Regions from separate parts of the Homo sapiens genome. Here all the other regions are linked to region 1. Evidence: promoter capture Hi-C in 16 types of primary human blood cells and fetal thymus (Javierre and others, 2016). All regions are on one chromosome and are shown on one strand. Each heading gives the region's core, a stretch centred on a gene start or on the middle of the fragment in contact. The rest is flanking DNA. Distances are from core to core; before and after follow the strand shown.

Region 1 (4,801 bases), core at 625-3,124:
ATCACCTGAGGTCAGGAGTTCAAGACCAGCCTGGACAACATGGTGAAACCCCATCTCTACCAAAAACGCAAAAATTAGCCGGGTGTGGTGGCAGACACCTGTAATCCCAGCTACTCAGGAGGCTGAGGCAGGAGAATCGCTTGAACCCAGGAGGCAGAGGTTGCAGTGAGCCGAGATGGCACCACTGCACTCCAGCCTGGGCAATGGAATGAGACTCCATCTCGAAAAAAAAGAAAAAGAAAAGCAAGGAGAAAGCTACATCTATGAAAAAGCTAGGCACTGTCAGATGTGGTGGCTAACCCCTGTAATCCCAGCACTTTGGGAGACCCAGGTAAGAGGATGGCTTGAGCCCAAGAGTTTGAGACCAGCCTGGGCAACAACATAAGACCCCATTTCTCCAAAATATTTTTAAAAAACGGGGGAGGAGAGGAGGTCAGGCATGGTGGTGCGTGCCTGTGGTCCCAGCAACCTCAGGTACTAGGGAGGCTGAGGTAGGAGGATTGCTGGAGCCCAGGAGGTCAAGGCTGCAGTGAGCCGTGACTGTGCCACTGCACGTAAGCCGGGACAATAGGACAAGATCCTGTCTCAAAAAAAAAAAAAACAAAGAAAGAAGGAAGGAAGGAAACATAATTTAAAAAATCAAGTCCAAAAAAAAGCAAGCAAGAAGTAAAAAAAAAAAGCTCAGCACTGTCACAAGAAATATATGGCAAGAAAAGCTGGCAATTTCTATATACCTGTGAAACCCAAATTGTCACTTGCCTTAAGGATCAAATGTATCAATGGTGTGAGCCCAAAACTCTGTTGCAACTTCTTCACTTTCCCCAGATCTTCAATGGCAGCTTTGTTAAACTCAACAAGGCTTCAGTTAACACGCTGAGGATTGTGGAACCATATATCACATGGAGTACCTGAACCTGAAATCAGTAAATGAACTGATCTACAAATTGGTTATGGCAAAATCAATAAACAAATTACCTTAACAGATAACGCTTTGATTGCTAGATTTCCTGATAAATATGGCATCATCTGACTGGAGAATCTGATTCATGAGATCTATGCTGTTGAAAAACTCAAGTTCCTGTGATCCTTCAAATTATCTTCTCCACGAGGGAGAATGAAGGACTACCTATTTTGTATTAATAAAAGGTATAAATGCCAGCAACAGAAAAGACTATATCAACAGGCTTATTAAACGGATAAACTGAAGCATCTAACATTATTTTTGTAATCTGGTCAGTTAATAGCCAGTCACTACTTTCAAACTGGAAAAAACAAAAACCAAAACAAAAATGTGACTGACTCCTTCAAGACCAAAATACACCACTTTTTGCCTAGACGGCACTTTGAAATAGAGGGCAATACCATCATATTTCACGCTTGCCTTTCTACTTTTTAATACAGGTGAACTTTTTCTCCTTAATAGGAAAGAACACCAAGTAAAGAACAAATAGCAGTTATGGAAAATAGTTGCAAAAACTGCAGGGGGCTACAGAACAAAGGACTGAGTGTAGGCAGAGAGATAGAGATCCCCGAGGTGTGGGGCAGAGCCCACGCATCTGAATTCCAAGAACAGGCGCTTTCTGACAGAGAATACCAGGAAATGACTTCACATTTTTCCAGACTATCAACATACTTCATTCTTCCCAGTAGGAGAACCCAGGGCCTGTTCCACGCCCACAGACTTTGGTCAGGCAAAGCGGCCGCAGGGCGTCTGGGCTAAACGCAACCAGGAACACATTGGCAAACTTTTGCGCCTGCGCCCACCGGGCGTGCACCTGTAGGCTGAAGTCGCGCATGCGCTAGATGGGAACGTTGTTTCTTCTCCCCTACCCCTTTTCTGTGGGTCTGTTTTAGGGACAGACTGCTTCCGGGTCGAAGGGCTTGCTTCCGGAGAGCGGGAAGGCTAAAACGCGGTAGCTAAACTGCAGCCAACTTTGGTTGTGTGTGGAAAAGGCTTTAGCCATGGACAGGTCAGTACTGATGGTGGCAGCTGAGCCCGAAGTCTTGCCCGTCTCGCCTGTTGGCGAAACGAAATAGGTGAAACTAGACTCCCAGAAGAAGCCAAGGAGGTCCCGGGTGCTTCCCCTAAGGCTCCTTCCCCATGCCGGGAAATTTGGCCACAAATGGGGAAAAAGCCGCTTGGCGTGCGTCGGGGTGGGGTACAGATCATAATAGTCCCTTACTTTCCCACTACGTTCTGCGATCTATTCGGCGCTTTGGGGCAGCAACACTGTTCGCTCCTGGGGTGGGCGGGGTAGGTAGCGCGGCGTTCGAAATGCTAAGTGACCAGCCTGAGATCACAAAGCCAGTCAGTGAAGATACTGGGATCTCAGCCCAGACTTTCTGATTACAAGTGCCAGCATCAGATTCTGAGTTCCCTCTATGATCTGGGTACTGTGCTAGCCGCCTACAACAAAGATCAGTTATTCAAGATCCTTCCCCTCGGGGAATTAGTTGTGTAATGGAGACAACCAAGCAGTGTAAAGTGGTAAGTGTTTGGGGGCGATTAAGTCTCCTTGTCACTGTAACTATCAGGAAGACCCCTCAAAGAAGGTAACTTTCTAGCTGGTCTTTGAATAATAAGAGTACATTATTCGTACTCCAAACATTGAGTACCTACTATGTGACTGCCATTGTTCTAAAGGCGTTGAATATATATTATTAGCTTATTTAATCTTCAGAACAAGAAAAATCCTATGAGATGGGTACTGTTATCCTTTTTTCATATATAACACTGAGACTAAAAGAGGTTAAGGAACTTGCTGAAAGTTCGGAAGCTAATAAATACAAGAACCAAATTGCCAACCTGCATCTGTGTGTCTCCAGCCTACCTGAGGCTCTTTGAGGAGTAAGTAGTTGTTGACCAGGTGCTCAAGGGGGCAAATGTAGGTCTTTGTAAAAGAAGCATATTCAGAGGTGCTAGGATATGAAAAAAAAGTACGTGTAGCTCAGTGGTCACATGCAGTATACGTTTAAAGTGATGTTTGTGGCTGAATAGAAGACTGAACCCCTAAACTGGGGTCACATTGTAAATATCATTTTAGGAAATTTTTACTTCTATAGACCAGAGAGCTATCTGAAGGTTTTTTTTTTTGTTTTTAATTTTAATTGTTAAACGTTTAAAATTGTTTCTATGTGGTTGTTTCCCATACTTTCCTGCTGAAGGAATATCTGAAGGTTTTAAGTGGAGGAAAAGCATATTAGATTCTTGTCTTAAACACAGGCCTTTTAGTCCGCACAATTTAGTTTCTAGACCTTTGAGTGAAACTGACAGGGAGTGTTGTGATGGGACAGGAGACCTCCTGGGTTGAAATAACTTGAAGGGTCATTTTGCTCCAATTTACCACAATTCTTTTACTTACCCTTCTATCTCACAAGCTCTGTTTGTTGTTGTTGTTGCAAGCTCTGTTTGTTGTTGTTGTTGTTTGTTTGTTTTTTAATAGTACCCATGGTTTAAAGCATTTTGGAGACTGCAGAAAATCTTTTAAGAGAGAATTCCTGCAGTTAGGTAACTCCTCAATCCAACAAGGGAAATAAGATTCACTTTCATGAAGCAATTATCTAAAACAGTGTTATAATATAGATTCCAAGTGTTGAAATAATTCCTTAGGAGAAAATAACATAGTGAGTACTAGAAAGTCAGAGAAGTCTTTGTGCAGGTAAGATTTGAGTAAGGCTTTGAAGAATAAGCAGGATTTGGAGCCAGGAGTGCGTTCTCAACAAAAGATCTAAGACTTGGCTACTAGAATGACTATACCTTAACTTACTCAGGGTCCTTTACTCCAACTGTGATGATAAAATTCTTTATAAATGCTATATTCTCGTTTCACTTATATAAGCTTGATTATACTACTTTAGGAGTGGCTTTGGAGAGATATCATCCCCTGTAATCCGGGAGGCAGAGGTGACACGGACTGCACGGAAACAGAGTGCTCAGAAAAGAGTTTTACGTATCCTTTGCGATTTAAGCATCATTATAAAAATTGTAACATGTTTGGAATCAGTGTTGTAGAATTTTCTTTTTATAAGAGTATTAAATGGTAGCTATAATAAAATCCTGTAGAAACTTTTTTTCACTCCACAGAGCTGTCATTTGGTAAATATAATGCAAAAATTTAATGAGATCGTATTTCCCTAAAAATAAAGATATTTCTTACTGCTGACAGCTTCTGCTGAGATTAGATTTCTTTTTATTATTTGAAAACTGACTAAAAACATTTAGTTCAGTGTGTAGTTATCTAAGACTGACATCTGATCATTTAAATGGCAGAAGCAATGAATTATTTACCCTTTGCATTGAAAAATGGTAGCCCTAAAATACTTGTTCTTGAAAAATGTATTCACATAATTTGTATAGTAAAAAGATGGTTAATTCTCATTTTAGTGATCTCTTTTCTACATGGAAAACTTTTCTTAACTCGTTGTACAGTTCAGGCATCTCAAGATGAAAATTTTGGTAATACTACACCAAGAAACCAGGTTATCCCTCGAACTCCTAGCTCATTTCGACAGCCTTGTAAGATTTTTTGCTTTTAAAGCATTTAATAATAACGGTAATTATAATAGCAACTAACATTTATTGTAACATAATTAGTATAGTATTTGGTTACGATATCAATAAGCACTAATAATAATGATTGCAGTTATTATTCGTTTGAACTCTTGCCATGTACAAGGTACTGTACTTTCCATAAACACACGGTAACTATGACATGGGTATTGTTGGCCCTGTTTTACCAAAACTGAAAGTGAGACTTAGAGAAGTTAACTAATATATACAATAAGTATGTAAATAGGCTGG
Region 2 (5,447 bases), core at 2,499-4,998, 570 kb after region 1:
TGTAAAAGGAAAGAGACATAGTATCACTCCTGGTTTAAAAATAGTGTCCATTATTTAATTTGTGTTACAAATTTGAGTTTTATTTCTGCCCTTAAATTTGAAATCTGATTTATAGAAGCACTTCTGTGCGTATTATATTTTAATTTGGGTTGTCATGAGACTAAGATTATTGATTTAGAGCTTCATTAAATGCACATATGTATATTTATTTTTTATTAATATTACATCTTAAGTATCATTAAAATAGTCCTATAGAATGTTTGTATTTCTACTTAGTTATATGTATACTTGAAAGTTAAAAACTTGTATATGCAAAAATCAATAAAACTTGGCACCCTTGCATTTCCTTAATAACACTGTATTTTTAAACGTTTTATTTACATTTCTTTTTTTCAGGGGGAGACAGAATTTGCAAAACTCTGTCACCCAGGCTGGAGTGCAGTGGTGTAATCATAGCTCACTGAAGCCTCAAACTCCTGGGCTGAAGTGATTCTCCTGTGTCAGCCTCCAAGTAGCTAGGACCACAGGCATGTGTCACTCTGCCTGGCTAATTAAAAACAAAACAAACACTTTTGTAGAGCTGACTTCTTGCTATATTGCTTCAGGCTGGCCTCAAATTCCTGGCCTCAAGTGATCCTCCTAACCAAGCTCTCAAAGTGCTAGGATTATGGTGCCCAGCCTATTTACATTTCTTTTAAAACTAAATGTAACAGATCTCCCACCACCCAGTCTGAGTATTCTATAAAATTGGAGACAGTAGCAGTGTAGTTATGAAAGTATGGTTGCTAAGTAAGTATTTGGATCTTAGCTCCACCATCTATTATTAGTTTTGTGACCTTGTTAAAGAGTTAAAGCTCTTTAACTTCTATTGTATCATGTGTAAAATGGGTATAATAATAGTGCTTATATGGTTGTTATAAGAGTTAGTTGATACATAAAGTATATGGTAGATATTAAATACATGTTAGTTTTTTCTTATCTGCATTTTAATTCAAAAACAAGATGAAATTCAAAATACTTTCCTTTAATGGGAGGAAGTGAAATTGGTTTTATTCACAATTTAAAATCATAGCAGTTTAAAGCTGTAAGGGACCAGAAACTCTTGAGAGTCAAATCTTATTGTAACCCCAAGGGTATATACCTTCTAGTTTCTGAAATACTTATCAGGGAATGAAGTTAGGTTCCCAGATGGTTTTTGTGCTGTTTAAAAATTGGAGTCTGACTGGCCATAACTAGACTTAGATTTGCACTCAGCATTTATTTTCTCTTTTATGTCTCAAATTTCCCCTTAAAAACTAGACTGGGATAATAAAAATCTTGGTTTTATTTTAATGGTTAATGAGGGGGAAAATATCTTGCAGTGGACAACAGATGAAGACTTAACTGAAGCAGTTCATTCTTTGGGAGTAAATGATATTTTGGAGATAAAATTTTTTGAAAATCGGGCAAATGGCCAGTCAAAGGGGTAAGTTTTTTTTTTCTTTCTTTTTGATTTAGTAGCTAGTGATACAGTTTTTACAAGTTAACTTTCCTTTAAGTTAATGTTAATTACACATGTATACACATGTATACAAACAACACATGATTGTTTACATTGGAAGGAGGTTCTTGGGCAAAGATTGATACTTTTCATTTTACGTACCCTATTACCTAACACACTAAAACCAGTAGAGTGGAAATGTGGACAGATTTATTTTCTATTTTTCCCAAGTTTTCTCTATCTGTGGTTGAAATGGTTGTTGAAATGACAGTTTAAGAACCATTACTCTCCCTGTGATTAAGAGATGGGAGAAGATGGGCAACTGAATAATGTGTTACATGGATATTTTGCTTTATTTCACTACTAAACTATACAAGTGGGATAGCCTCAGCATGAGAACATTATAAATACAGATATCTAAAAGTAAGAAAATAAAATACCACTGTCCTACCATTCATTGATGTTTACTTTTAACATTTTAGTGAAGATTCTTTTGGGCTTTTTCCTAAAAATAAATAAATAAATAAATAATGGAATTATAATTCATGTGTTTTATATGTTTGATATAAGGAATAAAAATAAATACACATCCTCTCTAATGTCTAATTCTTTTGCATCATACCTGGTATGCTACTGTAATTTACCTTTCTTATTTTTGGTTATCGTGGTGGTTTCCACTTTTGCCTATTGTAAATAATGTTGCAGCAGACATCATTTTATATAAGTCTTTTGGTACAGATTTTGGATTTTCTTTTAAGGATAAATTGTTAGATGCACAATGATAAAGAATTTTCTTATTTCTTATATTGCTTACTTATCTTAGAAGATTATACCAATTTATACTAAACTGAGAATATTTTCAAAATATATGCAGAGTCTGAATACTTCTCACTAACTTTACTTATACCACTTGGTCAAAGCCACTATCATCTCTCACTTAAACTTTGGCAGTAGCTTCCTAACTGGAAGTATAGACTGCCCCCTACAGTCTGTACTCCACATAACAGAAGTTCTAAAAAAAAAATGACATTCTGCTCAATCTTCTCATGGTTTCCTGTCTGTCTCATTCTTTACCATTGTCTACAAGGTACTTTCTGGTCTGTTTTCCCACCACCTTTCTAACCCTATCCTACCACTCTTTTTCAGCCACATTAGTCTCTTTGCTGTTGGCCAGACCAATTCCTACCTAGGACCTTTAGCTGTTTTCTCTTCTTGGTTTACTTTTCCCCCTCAAATATCCACATGGCTTACTCTTTGACTTCATTCAGGACTCAAACTGTTTAAGAGTTTTCTTCCATGACCATCTTGTGCAAAGTAGCACCTTCCTATCCTGTTTCCTTTATTTCTGCTCTGATATATTTTACTCGTTTGTTGTCTCCTCTTCCAAGCCTTTAAGCTTAATGAGAACAGAGATTTTGTTTTGTTCTCTATTACTTCTCCAGCTCTAGAATGGTACCTTGCGTATAAGAAGTGGTGCTTAATAAATATTTGTTAAATTAATTTAGTTTTTTCTAAATGTTGTGACCCAAGATAATCCTGGTGCAAACAGCAGAACTTGTTGACTAAAATAAGAAGGATAATTTAAAAGATCATATTGAACATTAGGGGGAAAAGAGCTTAAGCTTCTTAAGCTACTAAGACCCTCCCTCCCTCAAATAATTTAGAATATCCTGTAACTATACGAATTGGTAATCATTCTGATTATTTTAAATTTGTTTTTCTTTTTGAGGTATAATTCATATGCCATAAAATGCAGGCTTTTAAATGTACAATTCAATGATAATTTATTATATTTATGAAGTTTAGCAACCATTACCACTGTCTCATTCCAGAACATTTCATCACTCCAAGAAGGAACCTTGTACCTGGTTAGCAGTCACTCCCATTTCCTCTCTTCCTATCTGCTGGCAACTGCTAACGTGCTCTGGATATGCCTGTTCTGGACATTTCATCTAAATGGAATCATAAAATACGTAGTCCTATGTGACTGGCTTTTTTCCTTAGCATAATGATTTTAAGGTTCATCCATGTTGAAGCATGCATCAGCATTTCTTTTTATGGCTGAGTAATATTCCACTACATGGATATAGCACTTTTTTCTTTTAATCTATCAGTCGATGGACGTCTAGGTTATTTCCACTTTTGGCTATTAAGGAAAATGCCCCTGTGAATATTTGTGTACCCATTTTGTGTGAACATGTATTTTCAGTTCTGTTGGATGTGTACCTAGGAATGGAATTACTGGGTTAATATAGTAACTCTATGTTTAAATGTTTGAGGAATTACCAGATTATTTGCCAGAGGCATTGTGCCATTTTATTAATACGTGCTCATCAGCAATGTGCAATGGTTCCAGTTTCTCCACATATTTATTTATTTATTTATTTATTGAGACAGAGTCTCACTCTGTCACCCAGGCTGGAGTGCAGTGGCGCAATCTTGGCTCATTGCAACTTCTGCCTCCCAGGTTCAAGCGATTCTCCTGTCTCAGCCTCCCAGCGTGGGACTACAGGCACACGCCACCATGCCTGGCTAATTTTTGAATTTTTAGTAGAGACGGGGTTTCACCATGTTGGTCAGGCTGGTCTTGAACTCCTGACCTCATGATCCTCCTGCCTTGGCCTCCCAAAGTGCTGAGATTATAGGCGTGAGCCACTGCACCCGGCCTCTCCACATCTTTAATACTTGTCTTTTTGATTATAGCCACCCTAGTGGGTATGGGGTGGTATCTTGTGGTTTTGATTTGCACTTCCCCAATAGTTAATGATATTGTACATCTTTTTATTGTAGCAAAAAGTGGAAGCAACCCAAATGTCCATGAACTGATGGATACATTTCTTTTAATGTTGTATATTTATAATGGAAAATTATTCACCCATAAAAGTAAGTGGTGATGCATGCTGTAACAGTGGATGAAGCTTGAAAACATGCTAGTTAAAGAAGGCTGGTCACAAGGGACCTCCTATTGTATGATTCCATTTAGATGAAATGTCTAGGATAGGCCAGTCCAGAGACAGAAATTAGGTTTAGTGGTTCCATAGGGTACAGGGATGGGAAGGAATGGGAGCGATGGCTAATGGATATGGAGTTTCTTTTTGGGGTGATGAAAATGTTTTAAAATTGATTATGGTGGTGGTTATAACACTGTGAAATACTAAAAACCACTGAATTATATATTTTGAATGACTGAATTCTATGGTATGTTATACAAGATGAACAAAAATGTGTACTCGTATAGTTAAGAAATATTTTTAGTTTTTAAAATTATTTATTTTTAGAGACAGGATCTCACTGTGTTGCCCAGGCTGGAGTGCAGTAGTGTGATTATAGGTTACTGTAGCCTCAAACTCCTGGGCTCAAGCAATCCTCGTGCCTCAACCTTCTAAGCAGCTGGGATTACAGGCATGAGCCACTGTGCCCAGCTGTTGTTTTAGATAAAAGCAGATTAAGACCTTTTTACAGAAGAATAACAGTAATAATATTGATCTCTTTTTACTTTGTATCCTCACCCCTTAAACACTTTTTAGGTTTGCCCTTGTTGGTGTTGGATCTGAAGCATCTTCAAAAAAGTTAATGGATCTGTTACCTAAAAGAGAACTTCATGGTCAGAATCCTGTTGTAACTCCATGCAATAAACAGTTCCTGAGTCAATTTGAAATGCAGTCCAGGAAAAGTAAGCAGTCCTCAGAGGCTTTTATTAAAATATGTACATTTTAACCAGTGCATTTGTTAGGTGTTATACTAGAGAAGTCATCTTAATACTAGCTCACTAGGAACTCCATTTCACAAAGTCCATGCTTTGAATTAGATTTAATCACTGGTTATGACTGTGGGCCTGTGTACGAGAAACCTACTCCTGTTCCATTTTTCTCCAGATGTAACAGACCCAATACTATACAACAATGTGCAAGTTCTATAGCCCTGCCATTCTTGTCCTATTATTTCCATCTTAGATACAGAAAGAAAC
Region 3 (5,174 bases), core at 146-2,645, 650 kb before region 1:
TACAATGATTTTGGCAAGTACAACAATCAGTCTTCAGATTTTGAACCCATGAAGGCAGGAAACTTTGAAGGCAGAAGCTCTGACCCCTATGGTGGTGGAGGCCAATACTTTGCCAAACCACGAAACCAAGGTGGCTATGGTGGTTCCAGTAGCAACAGTAGCTACAGCAGTAGCTACTGTTTTTTGTTTTTGTTTTTTTTTTTTTTTGTCGTTGTTGTTTGGAGACGGAGTCTCGCACTGTTGCCCCCGGGCTGGAGTGCAATGGCGTGATCTCGGCTCACTGCAACCTCTGCCTCCTGGGTTCACACAATTCTCCTGCCTCAGCCTCCCTAGTAGCTGGTGCCCACCACCACACCCAGCTAATTTTTTGTATTTTTAGTAGGGATGGGGTTTCACTATGTTGGCCAGACTGATCTCAAACTCCTGACCTCGTGATCCACCCGCCTTGGCCTCCCAAAGTGCTAGGATTATAGGCATGAGCCACTGTGCCCAGCCAGATTTTAATTACTGTCACGAGACAAAGCTTAGCAGGAGAGGACAGCTGGAAACATGACAAGGAAACTACAGGTTACAACAGATTTTTTAACTCAGCCAAGCACAGTCGTGGTAGGACCTAGCTGCTACAAAGAAGACATGTTTTTGACAATATTCATGTGTATGGGCAAAAATCTCAAGGACTGTAGTTGTGACCAATTGTACAACAGTTTATTTTAGTTTCTGTTCTGTAGAAAGTGTAAACCATGCCTATAAAGGGTTTTAATGTCAATTTTTCTTTGCACCCATGCTGTTGACTGCTCAATGTAATAGTCTGATCATGATGCTAATTAGATGTGTCCTTTAAAAAACAATATGATGTGTTGTAGTACATTGGTTGGCTGACATTAATGAAAAGACCTACCTATTAACATTGATAACTAAATCTGGACTTCTCTCTATAAAGCTACCCAATTGGGTCCCACTGGCTGAACTTTATATGCTTCAGTGGTGTCTTAACAAAAGACTGCCTCTAAATTAGACTAAGTGTCTTAGAACCCTGTGGTCTAGAGAAATGAAGTGAAATGTAATAGCTGGGAGAAACAGGGCATTATACATCTTGAAAGAACTATCTTTCAAGATAAACTAGCACCCCACTCTAGCCCAGCTTCATGGCTGACTCTCAGAGCATCATATTTTCCACTGATGGGCTGAAGATTCATAAATGTAGTAAACCACTGAAAACAATTGCTTCATAAGACTTCTTTAGAAAATTCCTTATGGTACTACATCTACAATGTAGAGGGCTTGTCTTCAGCTCCCTCAACATCTCAAATTTTTTGACACATTCAGTACATGCCTGTTATGTCTTTAATCCCAGAACACATGTATTTTCCCCTTCCAGATGATTTCTTTGCAGATTTCACAATGGAGAAGAGCTGTCACAGGTGGAAGTAATCATGCTGTCACAAAGATATTACTTTTTTCTTCCAGTGCTGGAAGGCAGTCAGGAACAAGCCATGCATTAGTTTAAGAGCCATGAGATGTATAACTCCAGTTTTTTAAAGCTCATAGTAGAAAATGAAGAGGGGGCAATGGCATAGCAGGTGAATGCATTTGGGGTGTGTTACAGACCAAGCAAGAATCAATCACTTATGTCTGTCAGACCAGATGGATCTGGAAACAGTTTAATCCTCAGGGCCAATGTGATATGTTGTGATATGTGATATGTCACAATAATATGTTTTCCCCGCAGGTTTCAAGCCTGTTTAAAAAAATGTTTTTAAACTTGAAAGGAAGACAAGTGACCAATATTATAAGGTTAATGCAGAAAATAATGGTCATAGTATTTAATAAACTTCAATTTATCAAATAAACCTGTATGTCAGTCTTTCTGGCTTTAGGCCTGTTTGCATCAGAATTATCCTGGAGGATTCTTAAAACAACAAAAATAAGCACACAAACATCTATTTAATCATAAGGGAATTTTCACCTAAAATAATCTCCCCCTGTGATGTAGATTCACACTGGAGTTGAGTATAATAATTTTGCTCTCATCAAAAATAATCGGAAAGAGAGGAGCTTTGGGATATGTCATTTTGATCTAAGAAAACGTATTGGCTTTCTTGCTGCTTCTTTGGATTCTTTTTTGCATATCATCTGGCAAGTGAGCAGGTGCACAGCTCTGATAAGCAGGAAGGAACCCCCGACCCCACCACCACTGCCTCAGAGCAAATACTCAATAAATGGTCACCTCATTTCCACCCCCCTCCCTACTCCCACCCACCAGGCAAGAAAGCTTAAACCTAGTAAAATCTCTGAGTGCTCAACATGGAATGGAAAACCCAGAAGAGCAAGGTTGGAAATTGTAGCTGGGAAGTCTCAAGTTCTCTGGTTCCTCCTGGAAGAGGGCATGAAGGTGGCTTTGTGTAAATATGGGCATATTGATTTTTATTTGATGAGCCATAGAAAACTAGATAGTCCAGAAATAAATAAAGGAACTGGGAATGTTGGAATCCACAAATATTGACCATCAGTTTGGGATTGGCAGCTTCTCTCCTTCCCATCTTTATTACAAGTTATAGCGCCGTTACCTTAGATGCACACATGCTTTACAATAATGTTTTTGAAGCCAAGCCCTAGAGATTTCTCAAATATGCTTCCTATGTCTTTCTAGAGGCCCAAGCACACACCTCCCTCATTTATTGCCTCCTATTCAACTTGCGCAGCTTTTATGTGGTTTACATATAAAGCTTCTGTTTAAGATTGTGTTGTCTGGGCGCGGTGGCTCCTGCCTGTAATCCCAGCACTTTGGAAGGCCGAGGCGGGCAGATCACGAGGTCAGGAGATCGAGACCATCCTGGCTAACACAGTGAAACCCCGTATCAACTAAAAACATAAAAAATTAGCCGGGCGCGGTGGCGGGCGCCTGTAGTCCCAGCTACTCCGGAGGCTAAGGCAGGAGAATGGCGTGAACCCGGGAGGCGGAGCTTGCAGTGAGCCGAGATAGCGCCACTGCACTCCGGCCTGGGCGAAAGAGCGAGACTCCGTCTCAAAAAAAAGATTGTGTTTACAGGGTTCCACTGCACATCTCATCCAGGTTTTGAAAAATATTTAGATTTTAGGAGTTGCATTCTACTCTAAGTAACAACTCCAAACCTGCACCATATTTATTGGGTGACTTTAGGCCACAGTACCATTTTGTACAGTAAGGTATCTTCTTATGAAACAGAGAAGATATGCTTACTTCCTTACAGGATAAATAATGTGATGCTGAATAAGATAAACCTAAAGTTACTAAGAGACAAACACTGTATATTAAGTGTTATAACCACACATCAGAAGACCATTTTAGACTGTGGTTTCAGGGTGCTAGAATATTCGAACCCTGTTTGCTTAGCTGACTAATCTAACTTTTTGGTAAGACTGGTTATATTTTTTTCTGTATAGAGAAGAGGTGATGAGAGAAAGTATTCTTTAGTTTATTCATTCACAATTTTTTAAAAAGGTCACTCTGGTTACCGCATGGAGAGCAGAACTGGTGGGGAATCTGTTCATGCCTGGGGAGGCCATTTAGGCACCTGCTGCCGTCATCAAGGCAAAAGATAAATACCTAAGTTTAAAAGCAAATTTATTTTTACAAGGTATAGATGTAAACAAGTCTCATATGCATGCCCAATAGATCTACTTTGTCCTACCAAAGGAGAAGGAGGATAATGCAGATATAAACTCTAGAACAAGACTGCCTTGGTTCAAATTCCAGCTTTGTCATTGTAGGACCTTGCCTAGACAAATTACTTAATTTTTTAATCTCTGTTGTCTCATCTTTAAAAGGAGGCTAATAGTAGTATCTGCCTTATAGGATTGTCAAGAATAAAGGAGTAAGTATATATGAAGTGTTTAGAATAGTTCCTTCCAGTCAATCAATGGTAACTTTTTTTTTTTCCCCCAAGCATAAAGGATCTAAATGGGGCAATGTGGCTAATGGCCCCTAGAGGGCAGCAGAGGAATAAGAACAGAGTGGACGACAGGTTCAGAGAAAGATGTCCTGTCTGATGGAAAAACGGGGAGAAGGGCACTGTGAATCATACAAAATGGAGACTGAGCTCAGGGCCATTTATAGCCTGCTTTGGGGACGTTTTCTAATAGTTCAAATCACTTTGTAGACAAAAATCAAGGACTGGAATAAGTGTAGTAATGAGAAGGATCCAGTCATGCATCTGAGAGCATACGTCCAATAAACCTCACTCAAAAGCTAGCAAGAAAATCTTGACTGTTGGCAGGAAGCATAGCTGATACTGAGGGCTGGGGCCTGGGTGCCTTTCCACTTGGCCCTTTCCATGCGACCTGGGCTTCCTCACAGCATGGTAGCTGGGTTACAGCATGAGTGTCCCAGTGAAATCAGGCAGCAGTGGGATCACGTTTTAATGACTCAGAAAAGACATGTATCACTTCTGCCATATTTTAATAGTTAAAAGTCTAACAAAAGCCCTCTTAGTTCCAAGGGGATAGGACACAGACTCCAACTCTTGATGAGGGAGTAGCAAGTTTCTGGAAAACTATATTAACAGGAAATACTGTAGTCATTTCCATAAAATACAATCGGTCACAAAGTGCTTTCCTAGAAGTTCATACTGGATTCTTTCTGCCTCATTTTCACATACAAAGCATCAGCAAATCCTGACAGACTGGGCTGCAAAATACATCCCAAACCTGATCTGATCTCACCATCTCCACTGCTCCCACCCTCGTCCAACCCAACATGTTTCTCTACCTGGATCACAGCAAAGTCTACTGAGAGGTTCCTCATCTCCAATTTAAAACCCCATAATCTACTATTTATAGGGCAGCCAGTGAGAACTTTGAAAAAATGTAAGTCTAAGCCTATCATCACTGCTCATCTTAGAACTATCCAATGGCTTTCAATTATGCTTAGAATAAAAGCTAAACTCCTAATGGTGGCCCACAAGAACCTCCATATTTTGGCCCTATTTATCTGTCTCATTTCATCTTCAGGCTTCTTTCCACCACACTCTGACCTTCTTCCTCTCACTTTAGCTCCTGGGTATGTTTTCAACTCAGGCACCTCTGATCCCAAATCTCTTCATATTACACTGTTCCATGATTCAAATCTGCTTGAACCTTCCCAGACCACTCAATATAAATGAGCATCAGTCCCATCACCGTCTATTCCTTAACCC
Region 4 (5,142 bases), core at 2,085-4,584, 910 kb after region 1:
TCCAGTTGTGTCAAATAGAAATTGTGTTTATAAATCAGACATGTCTGTCTACATCACAATGACATGAGTTCAGGCTGGTTGCGGTGGCTCATGCTTGTAATCCCAGTGCTTTGAGAGGCCAAGGCAGGAAGATTGCTTGAAGCCAGGAGTTCAAGACCAGCCTGGGCAATATAGTAAGACTGTCTCTACAAAAAATTAGCTGGGCGTGGTGGCACATGCCTGTAGTCCTAGCTACTTGGGAGGTTGAGGCAGGAGATCTCTTCAGCCCAGGAGTCCAAGGCTACAGTGAGCTGTGATCACGTCACTGCAGTCCATCCTAAGTGACAGAGCAAGACCCTGTCTTTAAAAAAAAAAAAAAAAATGCAGCTTGTTTGCTTTTTATTGTGGTAATGGTTTAAAAATTATTGTTTATTAAATTTTTACAGATTTAGGGATATAAGTATAGTTTTGTTAATGGTTTTCATAGTACACTCTAAGCCCTGGAAAATAAGTTTAACACTTTTCTAGATTTTAGGTCCTTGAAAATGAATGAATAGGTTGGAAAGTTGGTTTGGGAATGAGAATTAAGGAGACCTGGGTTATGAGTTGTGAAGTCAGTAGGGCTGTCACACTGTTTGGAACTGCCATGAATATTAGAAGAAATTATAGTGTACTAACCTTTGGAGAGTGGACTTGGTCTCATCCCAGAATGATCTCTTAAGACGTTTTTTTTAATCATTTGAGAAGCATAGTCGTCTTCTAACCAAGAGACATTTTCCTTTAATTACTTGAAGTGGGTTTACTTGCTTTAAAGTTACTTAGGAGCCATTGCGTACTTGATGCTTTAAGGTGACAAATAAACACAATTTAAGATGCTCATGTTTATGTAATTCATTCTTTAGTTCCACAAAATAAAGATGTAAGAGGCCGGGTGTGGTGGCTCACGCCTTTAATCCCAGCACTTTAGGAAGGCCTAAGTGGGCAGATCACAAGGTCTGGAGTTTGAGACCAGCCTGGTCAATATGGTGAAACCCTGTCTCTACTAAAAATAAAAAAATTAGCCAGGCGTGGTGGTGGGTGCCTGTAGTCGCAGCTACTCGGGAGGCTGAGGCAGGAGAATCACTTGAACCCGGGAGGTGGAGGTTGCAGTGAGCTGAGATTGGCGCCACTGCACTCCAGCCTGGGTGACAGAGCGAGACTCCGTCTCAAAAAAAAAAAAAAAAAAAGATGTAAGAAGTAAATGGTAATAATATATTGATGGGATAAACATATCGTAAGGTCTTGACATGAAATTGCTCTATACCCAGAAGAATGTTTATTAAGTACACCAACTGTATGTCTATGAAGGTGACCACATGGTGGCTCCCATCCTTAAAAGCTCAGTGGTTGTCAAAGGTGTATGATGACATTGGTTCTTGCAAGTGTCATTAAATAAATGTCTTGCACTGGGCATGGTGGCATGTGCCAGCAGTTTGATCTATTCAAGAGGCTGAGGCAGAAAGATTGCTTGTGCCCAGGAGGTTGTGCTATGATGGTGCCTGGTGAATAGTCATTGCGCTCCAGTCTAGGCAAGGTAGCAAGACACTCTCTCTTTAAAAAGAAAGAAAAGTCTCATGTAGAAGGATGAAGTGAAAAGTTTCATAAGCCAAGTTAGTCTTATTTTTGGATATGACGTCCCAAATATCTGTTGTGTCTCACATCTAGAACACAAAGCAGTCTCAGAATTTTGCCAGCCAAAAGTAAAAAGAACTTTATACAAATTATGAGTATAAATTAGTAGTTTCAAAGACCAGAGTCTTTATGAATTTATTATAAAATAAATAATAGAGCATTGACAGATTTATCAGTAAGGCATAGGAAAAGAAGGGTTGATTGATAATATATGCAATTCACATTATGAAAGGAGTAGTCAGCTAGAGAAAAGGATTTTGAAATGGAAACCTGACTTTTGCTTAGTTAGGAAATAGGGAACGAAGTGGCTGACCTGTTCAGTTTACAGCATGGAAGATGGAGGGAAAATAGGAATAGAAATGAGACATAAGGACTAAATTAATTTGTTCTTATTAAATTTGGTCTGGGAAATTCTTAGTATGCATTTCTTGTTTTTTTAGGCCTTAGGACATTTCATTTGTGATAATTAGAGATATCAGGTGCTTATTAAGCAGTTCATGAAGTGTATAGTGGTTGACTTATAGGACAAATATTTTCATGTCTTGTGCTGGGAATTGTATCATGAGGTCTTAGTCTTATAGGTTGGATTCAGAAGAGAATCTGAATTTAAACTCAAAAGTAACTGCTTTAAGACTCAGTTTAACCTTGGGAAGGTAGTATTGTATAGTGTGTGCTTATAGGTCTGAAGCCAGACTGCTTGAGTTTGAACCCCAGCTTTTTATATTCATCCTAGTTAGGTCTTTGGATAGGAAGGTAAACCTCTTGGCCTCATTTTTATCATGTGTAAAATGGGATAATAATGGAGCCTATCCAAGAGGATTATTTTAAAGATTAAATAATTAGTCGATATGAAGTATTTAAAAAGAGTGCCAGGAATATAATCAGCAATCAATTTTTAAAATGTGAAACACATTACCTATCATTATCTATCCATTACTGCTTATTAGAAAACAGGAATTTTAAGCCTGCTGTGCATTTAACTAATACATGTTTATGTTTATAGGTGGTGAAATTGCCTCTACCTTTGATCACCCAGAACTGGTGAAGCTTGGAAGTTGCAAACTTATCGAGGAAGTCATGATTGGAGAAGACAAACTCATTCACTTTTCTGGGGTTGCCCTTGGTGAGTGATTATGTAGATCCTGGTTAGGGTGTCTAAATTCTTGCTAGGCTCTGTTGAAGTAAAGGTTATTGTAGTTACTAGAATAGCATATCTTACAAGTCTTAACTCTTCAGAAGCATGATACATACTTTGTTTCAGTCTCTTGAGTCAACCTCATATTTACCGTGTCTTTGTGAACAGTGCATGTTCAACAGTTTTTTTTCCTTGATAACTTAGAACCATTATGAGCCTTGATTGTTGGAGAATGTATAATACAGGAAGACAGGTCAGCTTTCAGAACCCAGTAATATAACCAACACCGGCATAAATAATAGAAGGCAAACTTTTTATCCCTAAGTGGTCACTGTGTCTTTTAATTTTAGGTGAGGCTTGTACCATTGTTTTGCGTGGTGCCACTCAACAAATTTTAGATGAAGCAGAAAGATCATTGCATGATGCTCTTTGTGTTCTTGCGCAAACTGTAAAGGACTCTAGAACAGTTTATGGAGGAGGTAAGCATTTAGAAAATGTTGAATATATTTTTAATTTCTTAAAGTACAATATAAGTCATAAGTGGTTTTAATGGTTCTTACAGAAATCTTATATTGCTTTTGCACTAAATTTTAAAATGCTTGGCATATCTTAAAGTCAGTAATTCAGTATCTTGGAGACAACTAAGCATTGCAATATTTTATTGGAATTTTAATCTTTAGGCTGTTCTGAGATGTTGATGGCTCATGCTGTGACACAGCTTGCCAATAGAACACCAGGCAAAGAAGCTGTTGCAATGGAGTCTTATGCTAAAGCACTGAGAATGGTAAGTTAATCAAAATGAGAGATCCGAACTTAAGTTTTGTGGTTATTGATAGTTTTAAAATGAGTAGAAAATGAACTGGTTAATACTGCTTTTAAATTTGATTCTGGAGTTTCTCCTCTTCGTGAGCAGTAACTGAAGCAGATTTTACATTGTTCCTAAATGTATAATTTTAAAAAGCTATCCTAGTTAGGAGTAAATCAGTGGTTCTTACAGTAGAGTGAGTAGTTACTTGTTTTCTTCATTTTCATAGTTGCCAACCATCATAGCTGACAATGCAGGCTATGACAGTGCAGACCTGGTGGCACAGCTCAGGGCTGCTCACAGTGAAGGCAATACCACTGCTGGATTGGGTAAGCAATCAAGGGGAACTTTGTGGCCGTTGTTAAAAGTAACTCTTTTCACTAAGCTTTTTTTTTCTTTTGGAACATAAAGAGTTACAATAACCGTATAAAAGACTCTTTTGGACTTTGTCCTCATAATCATTACATGTGCTGGGAAAATGTGTGTGACTTTATATGCTCAGCATTTCCCAAACTTTGTTATTCCATAAGACATGTAAAACTGGTTAGAAGATTTGTAACTATTTGGTATATAACGACTATAGGATTTAAATATAAACAATACTTACATTCTGAAAAATAACATAAACTATTATGTTGTTTATACAATCAGTATTAACTTCTAATTTCATAGTAAACTTACTGCAAGATAATCTTGAGTACAGATCACAGATCTCTAGTCCATAGATAAAAGTGGCCAATGAGGCAGATTTAATTCATATTGAAAAACTTTCTGACAAGCTGTGCTGGACATTATAGAGTAGTCTTAAGAAGGTAGATAATCCTGTCATTGAACAAGAGGGAGCACCAGTTAATCTGTGAGAAAATGAAGCAGGATTCTCACAAGAAGAGAAGTTGGGTAGGTAACTTATGAATTTTCTTCCATTTGTTTTTTATTATTTGATATGTTGTCTTCTATTAATATGGGTGATCAGTAGTTGACATTATTGTTGTTATTACTATTATTATAACTGACACAATGGTCTTGCTCTGTTCCCCAGGCTGGAGTGCAGTGGCACCATGATAATTCACTGCAGCCTTGAACCCCTGGCTCAAGCAGTTCTCCTTCCTCAGCCTTCCAAGTAGTTAGGGCTAAAGGCATGTGCCACAATGCCTGACTAAATTATTTTTATTTTCTTAGAGATGGGGGGGCAGTCTCACTATGTTGTTCAGGCTGGCCTCAAGCAATCCTCCTGCCTCAGCCTCCCAAAGTGCTAGGATTATAGGTGTGAGCCACTGATCCTGGCCCCTTTTATTTTATTTATTTATTTTTTGAGATAGAGTTTCACTGTTGTTACTCAGGCTGGAGTGCAGAGGCATGATCTCAGCTCACTGCCACCTCTGCCTCCTGGGTTCAAGTGATTATCCTGCCTCAGCCTCCTGAGTAGCTGGGATTACAGGTGCCCACCACCATGCCCGGCTAATTTTTTATATTTTTAGTAGACGGGGTTTCACCATGTTTGCCAGGCTGGTCTCCAACTCCTGACCTTAGGTGATCTACCTGCCTCAGCCTC

What was found. The method cuts DNA at HindIII sites, captures the fragments that hold promoters and counts their contacts. A CHiCAGO score of 5 or more calls a contact.
Region 2: a contact is called between a fragment that was not itself captured here and the fragment with the promoter of NUP107 in region 1, in 1 of 17 cell types (monocytes). The highest score is 5.4, in monocytes.
Region 3: a contact is called between a fragment that was not itself captured here and the fragment with the promoter of NUP107 in region 1, in 1 of 17 cell types (activated CD4 T cells). The highest score is 5.1, in activated CD4 T cells.
Region 4: a fragment that was not itself captured here is called in contact with the fragment with the promoter of NUP107 in region 1 in 1 of 17 cell types (monocytes); the score reaches 6.8 in monocytes.

The regions. Positions count from the first base shown.
Region 1 is chr12:68,685,104-68,689,904 of GRCh38, forward strand. NUP107 (nucleoporin 107) reads left to right here and starts at 1,875. Exons shown (of 28, transcript NM_020401.4): 1 at 1,875-1,970; 2 at 3,859-3,950; 3 at 4,430-4,516. The coding sequence starts at 1,963. LOC100507250 (a long non-coding RNA gene) reads right to left here and starts at 1,756. Exons shown (of 3, transcript NR_038930.1): 1 at 1,634-1,756; 2 at 760-914. It also overlaps the pseudogene RPL7P42. The HindIII fragment of the contact is 6,312 bases long and covers 1-3,837 here.
Region 2 is chr12:69,251,690-69,257,136 of GRCh38, forward strand. It overlaps CPSF6 (cleavage and polyadenylation specific factor 6), which reads left to right. Exons shown (of 10, transcript NM_007007.3): 3 at 1,362-1,465; 4 at 5,008-5,153. Among named protein-coding and RNA genes, the nearest start is that of CPSF6, 15 kb to the left of the region's middle. RefSeq lists a silencer at 1,086-1,286 and an enhancer at 2,362-2,411. The HindIII fragment of the contact is 1,296 bases long and covers 3,101-4,396 here.
Region 3 is chr12:68,036,673-68,041,846 of GRCh38, forward strand. It overlaps the pseudogene HNRNPA1P70. Among named protein-coding and RNA genes, the nearest start is that of IFNG-AS1, 50 kb to the left of the region's middle. The HindIII fragment of the contact is 1,749 bases long and covers 522-2,270 here.
Region 4 is chr12:69,594,503-69,599,644 of GRCh38, forward strand. It overlaps CCT2 (chaperonin containing TCP1 subunit 2), which reads left to right. Exons shown (of 16, transcript NM_006431.3): 11 at 2,654-2,773; 12 at 3,136-3,264; 13 at 3,466-3,569; 14 at 3,820-3,919. Among named protein-coding and RNA genes, the nearest start is that of CCT2, 12 kb to the left of the region's middle. The HindIII fragment of the contact is 1,278 bases long and covers 2,696-3,973 here.